Regions from separate parts of the Homo sapiens genome. Here all the other regions are linked to region 1. The links are contacts of gene promoters, found by promoter capture Hi-C in blood cells and fetal thymus (Javierre and others, 2016). All regions are on one chromosome and are shown on one strand. Each heading gives the region's core, a stretch centred on a gene start or on the middle of the fragment in contact. The rest is flanking DNA. Distances are from core to core; before and after follow the strand shown.

Region 1 (2,700 bases), core at 199-2,698:
GGCCAATTCCGGAGCAGAAACGCAAAGACTTTCTCCGGGTCTGGGGGTGGGGAGACTGGCGTCGCGGACAGATTTCCGATTGCGCGGGGGTGGTGAGAGGCCAACGAGTGCAAAGGCGGTTGTCTAGTCTTTGAAGGCCGGCGGCTGGCTCTGCCACGCTCTCAGCAGGAAGGGGAGGGGACCAGGAGGAAGAGGGGGAGAAGGAGGAGATGCAGCGAAGAGCCCAAGGAGGGGGAGGAAGACCGGGGGAGGAAGGAGGGGCCAGAGGAGGAGCCCAGGCTCCGGGAAAGCCCGCGCGCCCGGCCGGCAGGACCTCGGGGCGGAGTCGCAGGCTCCGTCCGGCCCCCCGCGCGGCGACCCTCGCGCGGTGCGCCTCGAAGGGGCGGGCCCGCCTCGCAGCCTCCCTCCGGGTTTCGGGCCCTCCTTCCCCGCTCCTCCCTCCCCTCCCTCCTTTCCATCTCAGCAGCGCCCTCAGTCTCCCTCTCGCAGGCTCATACAAAAGCAAAATGTCCGCCATGTTCCGAGGCGGCTGCGGTTGTCGCGCCACGAGCTCGGCCCTCCTGCGGTTTCTCCCCGGGGCTGCTCCTCCCCGGTCCCCTCTCCCCGACCCCAGGCGCGACAGCTACTCCGAAGCCGCCGACGGCACCACTCCGCCCGCCCTCTGCGCACCCCCTCGCCGCCCGCCCCGCCGGGCGACGCAGGACCGCCTTAGGCGGGGGCAGGGGGGTAAGCAGCCCCCGCCGACTTGCTCCCGCTTCCCGCCTGTCCCCCCACCCGTAGCCCCTTTACCTTGATGCAGTACGGGGGTTCGTCGTAGGTGACCAGCATGTACCTGTCTCCACGGCTGGCCGGGTCCCGGGCGCGCAGCTGCGGGGCAAGGGATGACGGAGGGGGTCGCGTAGGAAAGGAGGGGGGAGGGCGATACAAACGTTACAGAAGCACCTCAATCCACACCCTGAAATCCCTCGGGAGCTCTCCCCATCTCTCCCCTCCCCTCCCTTTACCTTCAAGAATAACTCCACAGCGCCTTTGGCAATGTCCAAATAAGAGGTGCCCAGGTCAGTGCGCTGGTTCATAGAGGCGGACGTGTCTATGAGGAACAGCAGGATGGGCATCTTCCCCCGCACTCCTGCCTCCGCTCCCCACTCTCCCGGCCCTCTTGCCCTCACTGCCGCGTACGGCCACCTGAACCCTCAACTCTCGCAGAGCCGGGGAGCAAGGAGCAAGAGGAAGAGGGGGAGACGGGACGGGACGGGACGGATGGGACCGCTCCTGGCCTCCTCTTTCTGCAGCCCCACCTCCTCTCCCTCCAAGGGAACTTGAAAGTGTGAGCGTGTGTAGCCCTCGGGGCCCTCCCCCTTCCTCTCTTCTGCTGCCACCACTACTGCCGCTGCCAGGACTACTGCCTAAGCATCCGTCCGCGCTCACTAGAGCGCTCGCCCCAGACTGAGCGCCGTCTCTGTTCACTGACAACTTCTGTCTGCTCACCTACCATCGGCACCATGTGACCAGAACCCATGCCATTGGCTGCCAATTATGTGGTATTTGCATATTCATTAGATGACAGGACTAGGGGAGGGACTTGGGCGAACCCTGGGAGTTGAAGTTTGAACCCAGGCAGAGGGTAAGGGGAAGTGTTACGGACCCTCGCTAGGATTCTCCTTTAAAGGACTTGGAAGCAGTTCGAATGATTAGTTCGGGTGGTTTAAATGGATTTTTCTGTCTCTCTTCAAAGATGGTGATTCGAAAAGAAGAGTGAATTTGAGCAACAGTTGTACAGAAGTACAGAAGCAGATGCTTGGACAGTTTGCACAGAAAATTCTTCGCTAACTGCAATCGATCAATCCTGCCAGTGGCGAAGACGAAAATATTTCAGAAGCAGCAAACTTCTTTCCTGGCAGGACGTACTCACATTCCTTTAGATCCCTCCCCCGTCTTGATCAGTATTTGTGAGTTGGTTGCTGGCCTTGCATTCCACATATATCTACTTAGAAAGGAAACTAAAGCTTAAACACAGTTACAGTTACCTAAACTGGCCTTTTGTATGCACAAGCTTCTTCAGTTTCACTAAGCTCTTTGAAACATTGGCCTGCCTGTGATAATTCCACCACTGTTCCCTCTGCGCAGCCTTTACACATGGAGGTTTGCAAACCTAGATTGTGATTCAACTCACATATTTATTTATTTATTTATTTTTATAAATAAATAAAGAGGATCTCGCTTGATCGCCCAGGCTGGAGTGCAGTGGCCCCATCATAGCTGCCTGCAGCGTCCAGCTCCTGGGCTTAAGCGATCCTCCCATCTCAGCCTCTCAAGTAGCTGGGACCACAGGGGCAGGCTCTCAACTCACATTTATTGAGTGCCTATGAAGAGCCAGGCACCCACGGTAGCCTTGTTTAATCTTTGAATTAATTATGGCAGATGGCATTGTATTCAATTTTCAGTAGAGGAAAATGCAGCTCCCTGAGGTTAGGGTAACAATTACGGATACTCTCAGGTCTGGCTCTGTGAAGAGACTCAGTAAGTGGCCAACCACACTTGATTGACTACTTCATATGACACAATTTTAAAAATTGGACTTGTGTATTCCTGGCAATTACTATTGACAATGTGGAATCCAGGACTTCAATGAGTTTGCAGTTTCATTGAGGAGAGATGATGACATATACATACATAATATTTTATATATTTTGGCCAGGC
Region 2 (2,755 bases), core at 38-2,537, 530 kb after region 1:
ATGCCTTTATTACTATTTCTTGACTTAATGACATGAGGCATTTTCTGCTGACTTCCTGCCGCCCCCCTCAGCTCTCCTTCCCCCTGAATATAGTCATATCACTAATTTTTAACTCTTCTGTTGGCTACCTGGTTCAATGAATAGCAAAGTGGAATGCTCTGATTGGATTTTCTCATCACCGACTCCAGAGTCTTGATCCATGTGCCAATATTCAAACAGATTCCCTTTCTCACACTTTCGGCAACTGTTCAAAACCATGCCACATCTGAGGTTGCTTCATATGTGAAACATAAGTTTCTTGCACAGTTTTTAATGTTCTTCCCTGTAGTTTCTTTCTGTCATTTTTTTTCCTTTGGGTTGAAGAAATGTATGCCTTCCAGAACATGTTATTAATGTCCTCCAGCTTATTATTCAATCCATCTATTGCTTAGAATTCATCTCATTCAATTGGGTCTATTCACTTCGTTTCTAATTGGGGAGATTTGCCTGCTGTCTGAGCCATTCTTGTTCAGTTTATCTTTCCTTAAGTTTTTAGTTACCTTTCCCCGTTTTTTTTTTTTATTGCATTCTGTGCCCATTGTCATTTCCTAAAGTTCGTGCTGTTTTCTGTTTTACGGATGCAAAAACTTCTCAGATATTTTTAAGGATTTTCAAATTTTTAAGCTGTATTCTGTTCCTTCAAATATTTCCTTGAGAGTCAATTTTTCATTCTATCTTAGACGATTTGGGTTATATTTCAGGCTTTCCACAAATGCTGTTTTTTTCTTTTTTTGCCACCCATTTATACTAAAAGATGAGGCAATGGAAAGAATGAGTGGCAAGTCTGCATGCAGGAGCGGAGTTGGTCGCTTTGCTCTAGGGTGGGTGAGCAGGTGGGTGGAAGTCAGCCATCCTGACGAGGAGCCCCCAAATGCCACAAAGTTAGTGGCTCTAAATATATACCTGCAGGTGGACGTTGAGAATCACCGAGGCCAGAATATAGAAGTAAAAGAAGTTCTTGCGCAGCCGCCAGGCCAGGTCGAAGAAGGTGAGCAGCGTGCGCGTGAGCGTCTTGCAGAAGGCGCCGTAAGAGCCGCGGGTCCCCTGCGGGCGCGACAGCCGCACCGCCAGGCCAGACAGGGCCGCCGCCGCCATGGACCTGATGCTGCCTCCCACATAGTGCCCAGAGCCCAAGGCCTCCATCAGGCTCCGCTGACTCACCGACCGTGGGACAGAGGGATGGACGCGGGAAAGTACGGGCGGGAGGCCTCCTGGGCTGCTGCTGATCCGAGCTGCGCTGCAAGGCGGAAGCCCTCCTTTCCCGGCAGGGCTCTGGCCCCAGCGGTCACTGGCGCCCTGCCAGGTTCCGCCCCGCCCCACGGGGTCCGCGTGGCCTAGAGTCAGTTTAGCCTAACTGTCCTGGCCCAGGCCCCAGAACCCCAGGAAGGGCAGGGCACGTGCTGACGTGGGAGACCTAGCTTCCTAACCCGGGCTGTCTTTTCTTTAAAATTATGTTTAATTTTTAAGTTTTTTTCAGTTTTTTAAGTTTTAACAAAAGGAACACAAAACTTGCTCAAAACGATATAAAATGTCCTTCATAAGCATGATCTTGAGCAACTCAGAAGCACAAACCCATTTCCTGTTGTCTCATCCCTTTAGGAACGTTTTTCAATCCTCAACTCTTGAGCTAGTACAAATATACAAAACCCGCAACTTTTCTGGACATTAAAATGTGTGCATTCTGCTTGAATAATTCAAGCAATACTTCTGTTTTTGTGTTAGATCTTTCGTATTCTTCTGATTGGAAAAGTCATTCAATCAAGTTTTTAGAAATTTTCAAAGCAGAAATATGTAAAACAATAGAAAGCAAATTCCCTGCATAGCTTCACTTTCCCCTCCTACCCTTGCCATGAACTACTATTACGTTTGCTGTATCTACTTCCCGACTTTATGTATTGATATATTGCTCTTACCTTTTCAAGAATGTACATCTACTTCACTCTCTTTGATGACTGAATAGTGATCTATGTACATGTTGACTAATAGTGGTCAATAATTTATTTAACCAGATCCCTATTGATGGACATTCTGAATGTTTCTAGTTTTTCATATGTCAAAAATTGTTTCAGTGAACATCACTGTACATATGAATTTACAAGTGGCAGAACAGTAGGAATAATATGACCCCATCTTTGTTTATGAAAACAATTACATATACATATACATTTAGTGTTCAAAGCCAAAACGTTTTACTAATACATGCGATTGATCAAAAAAGTTTAGAGATCAGGGCTCTATGTTACCTTGAGTGTTAACAATCTTAATTTTTTTATTACCAATATGATAGGCAGTACATTTCATTATTCTTCTAATTTGCATTCATTTAATTGTCAGTGCAGTTGAGCAACTTTTCTAAATTTCTGAAGTTTTCAATATTGTTTTTCTGATGGCTTGTAAAACATTAAACATCATATTTATTATGAGAAAAGTAAAATTCCTAGGCTCATAACCCCCTAGAGAGAAAGACTACTAATTTGTATATGTTTTTATCAATTGTTTGCGTATATTTATAAGCACAAACATGTATACGCACATAGATATATTTACAAATCGTAAAACAAAAATGGAATCAGATAAACATATGCAGTCCGGGCGCTCACGCCTGTAATCCTAGCACTTTGGGAGGTTGAGGCAGGCGGATCACCTGAGGTCAGGAGTTCAAGGCCAGCCTGGCCAGCATGGTGAAACCCTGTCTCTACTAAAAATACAAAAATTA
Region 3 (2,709 bases), core at 161-2,660, 720 kb after region 1:
TGTTTCTAAGAAAAGGAGTAATATGAAATAACTAAATATATGAGATGGTAATAAGTTTACAGCTATTATCAAAGAGAAGGAGCTCTCTTTTACAAAAGAACAGCTACATGTCAGGAACCCCAAACCTGTAAAGATATAAATAGGACTCATAGTACATACACAAATTGGAATATCAAAAGGAACAAGTAATACAAAAACAGCAAGAATTCTATATGCTACAATGGCAAACACAACATTAAAGAAATTGTTTTTACTTCTCCCCATTTCTACGCACACATTATTATACCAACCTAGCTGTGTTTCTTGATCAGTCCTTCCAGTTCCAGGGAAATATGCCATGATCTTGGGACACTGCTTTTGTTAGATCTAGACTTGACAATTAGGCTACTCCTCTCTTTGCATATCCCAGTCTGCTGCGTCTGTCCCAGGCCCTCACCTATAAAAGGGAACCAACAAACATGTGATAATCAGCTCTTTATTTTACCAGTTGTCATGACAACCTTGAAGCTACGTTGTAACCTTTAGTTACCACAAGAGCAAGTCAAATACAAGTCAAACCCAAATCTACAAACCACAAACACCCCAAACCTTCCCAAAAGATTTACATGAAAGGTTAAAAAAAAAAAAAAAACTAGCAGGCAAGAATGATGTTAATAAAACCTAGAAATGATGGCCAAAGTAGCATTATTCTCCTCGCGTTCTCCTAAATTGTTAAGCTCCTGAGGTCAGTGCATGCATGTGGTCAACAAATGATTGTTTAGTAGCTATTGTGAACAAAAGAATGTATTATAATTTCTTTTGAGCAGGGAGTAGGAGGTGGGGCTGGCCTTAAGGGTTGCTGAGACCTTGAGATAAAAAGAGATACCTAAGTTGCTCAAAAACAGAGGTTGTTGTTTCTAATCTAGCTGGGAGAAAAATACAGGCAATTTAAAGGAAACTATCTAAAAGTACTTACAAATCCCTCATACTGCAGGCAGAAAGCATAAACAGTGAGGAATAAAATGATAATTGGCCTTGGCAAGTTTAGTATGGGATAATTGAAAAGAGGCAGGCAAAATTATTATTTCTGGCTGAATTTTGAAAGCAATTTCAGAACTATTACATTTCAATGCAATGGCCTTCTCTTCCCCAGGGCCATTCAAGTGGTGAGGATTAAAAGAGTTTGTGGAGTCCTGATAAGATAAGTAAGAAACAATGAGAAAGGGGCCCCAGGTGGGGAAGAACAATGAAAAATTGTTCTGAGAGACCTAGGGCACAAAGACCTCCTTCCACATGTGGCCCCAGCAGCATGACTTGTTTCCACATGCAGCCCCCTCCAGCTCCCTCCAGCCCCTGCCTCTTTGCAGACAGCTCCTCCTCTGCAGTGCTGCCCTTTGCCTCCTTGCAACATACTTCCATACCTTCTCTAGTAAATCTGCCTTTCTTTACCTACAACTGTCTTGGTCAATTCCTTTACCACCTGCGCCACTGGCCAGCTGCACCTGCAACATTTTGGTAGTTCGTATGGGCCTCTCCCCTACTTTCTCCCTTTCCTCCAATTCCAACCTCTCGTTGGACAGTGTCAAAACCCTGAGATAATTTTAAGTCCCTGGCCGGGGCTGCTCCCCAGGGAACCAGAAGGTCCTGGTGGAAAGACACCAGACTGCTGTCCCACGATTCTGTGAGACTTCAGAATTTGCTTTACTTTTCAGTCTTCCAGAGGACAAATTCTAGTATCCCTCTGGCAATTGATGGCAACTGGTCAGGGCCATTTCCTGGTGTGGCCTCAAGGCCAGCGGGTGTGAACAGGTTTGGCTGCCTTGCCTAGAAGGGAAGAAGGCCCTCTCCTATCTCTTCTGGCGAAAAGGTCTGCAATCCCTATGTAGTGCAATTGGCACATATGTTTTGGGGAGCTCAGAGCCCCTCTTTCTTACTCTAAATAGTCCTGCAAAAACAGCCAGACCTCCTGCTCTGGACGTTCCCAAATTAGGTGATAGCAAGCAGCCTCAGAGCAGTGAGTCTCCCCATTCTGGTCCTCTCTCCTGGGATGGGACCAGGCTGAGTTCTTCCTTTACCCTTTTTCCTTGTACCGGGGCTAACCATCCAGCGTAAGGCCCCAGCGCTGAGATGTCCTTTCTAATAGGTGGGATGCCCCTTTAGAGAGTGCACTTGAGGCCGGGCACGGTGGCTCATGCCTGTAATCCCAGCACTTTGGGAGGCCGAGGTGGGTGGATCACCTGAGGTCAGGAGTTCAAGACCAGCCTGGCCAACATGGCGAAACCCCATCTCTACTAAAAATACAAAAAATTAGCTGGACGTAGTGGTGCATGCCTGTAATCCCAGCTACCTGGGAGGCTGACACAGGAGAATCGCTTGAACCTGGGAGGCGGAGGTTGCAGTGAGCCGAGATCCCACCACTGCACTCCAGCCTGGGCGACAAAGCGAGATTCCATCTCAAAAGAAAAGAAAAGAAAGTGCACTGGAATCCCTCAGCAGATGTGAGTTGAGCCCTCTTCCTGGTGGGGCAGGGGGGTGGGGGCGGCGAGAGAGTGTGGTTCGTGTCTGCAGCAGACGTTAGTCCCCGGCAGCTCATCGTTTTCCAGTCCCACCATGGGACAAACCTCCTCTATTCCGTCAGACTCACCTATGAGTTGCATCCCAAAACGCTGAGACAAATGTAACCCTCAGATTAAAAAAAAAAAAAAAGTCGAATTTTCTTTTGTAATACAG

What was found. Contacts are between HindIII fragments. The CHiCAGO score rates a contact against its expected background, and 5 or more counts as called.
Region 2: the fragment with the promoter of SMIM10 here is called in contact with the fragment with the promoter of INTS6L in region 1 in 2 of 17 cell types (naive CD8 T cells and naive CD4 T cells); the score reaches 6.3 in naive CD8 T cells.
Region 3: a fragment that was not itself captured here is called in contact with the fragment with the promoter of INTS6L in region 1 in 6 of 17 cell types (neutrophils, naive CD8 T cells, total B cells and 3 more); the score reaches 8.9 in neutrophils.

Annotation. Positions count from the first base shown.
Region 1 is chrX:135,519,408-135,522,107 of GRCh38, reverse strand. INTS6L (integrator complex subunit 6 like) reads right to left here and starts at 1,448. Exons shown (of 18, transcript NM_001351601.3): 1 at 1,005-1,448; 2 at 790-867. The coding sequence starts at 1,115. It overlaps INTS6L-AS1 (INTS6L antisense RNA 1), which reads left to right and starts at 1,434. Exons shown (of 2, transcript NR_046740.1): 1 at 1,434-1,541; 2 at 1,736-2,025. RefSeq lists silencers at 345-544, 605-874 and enhancers at 1,125-1,184, 1,215-1,294. The HindIII fragment of the contact is 2,771 bases long and covers 1-2,008 here.
Region 2 is chrX:134,989,523-134,992,277 of GRCh38, reverse strand. It overlaps SMIM10 (small integral membrane protein 10), which reads right to left and starts at 1,287. Exons shown (of 1, transcript NM_001163438.2): 1 at 1-1,287. The coding sequence starts at 1,182. The coding sequence ends at 931. The HindIII fragment of the contact is 12,586 bases long and covers 1-2,755 here.
Region 3 is chrX:134,801,828-134,804,536 of GRCh38, reverse strand. It overlaps a transcript of PABIR3 not described here. Among named protein-coding and RNA genes, the nearest start is that of PABIR3, 4.1 kb to the left of the region's middle. The HindIII fragment of the contact is 7,504 bases long and covers 1-2,709 here.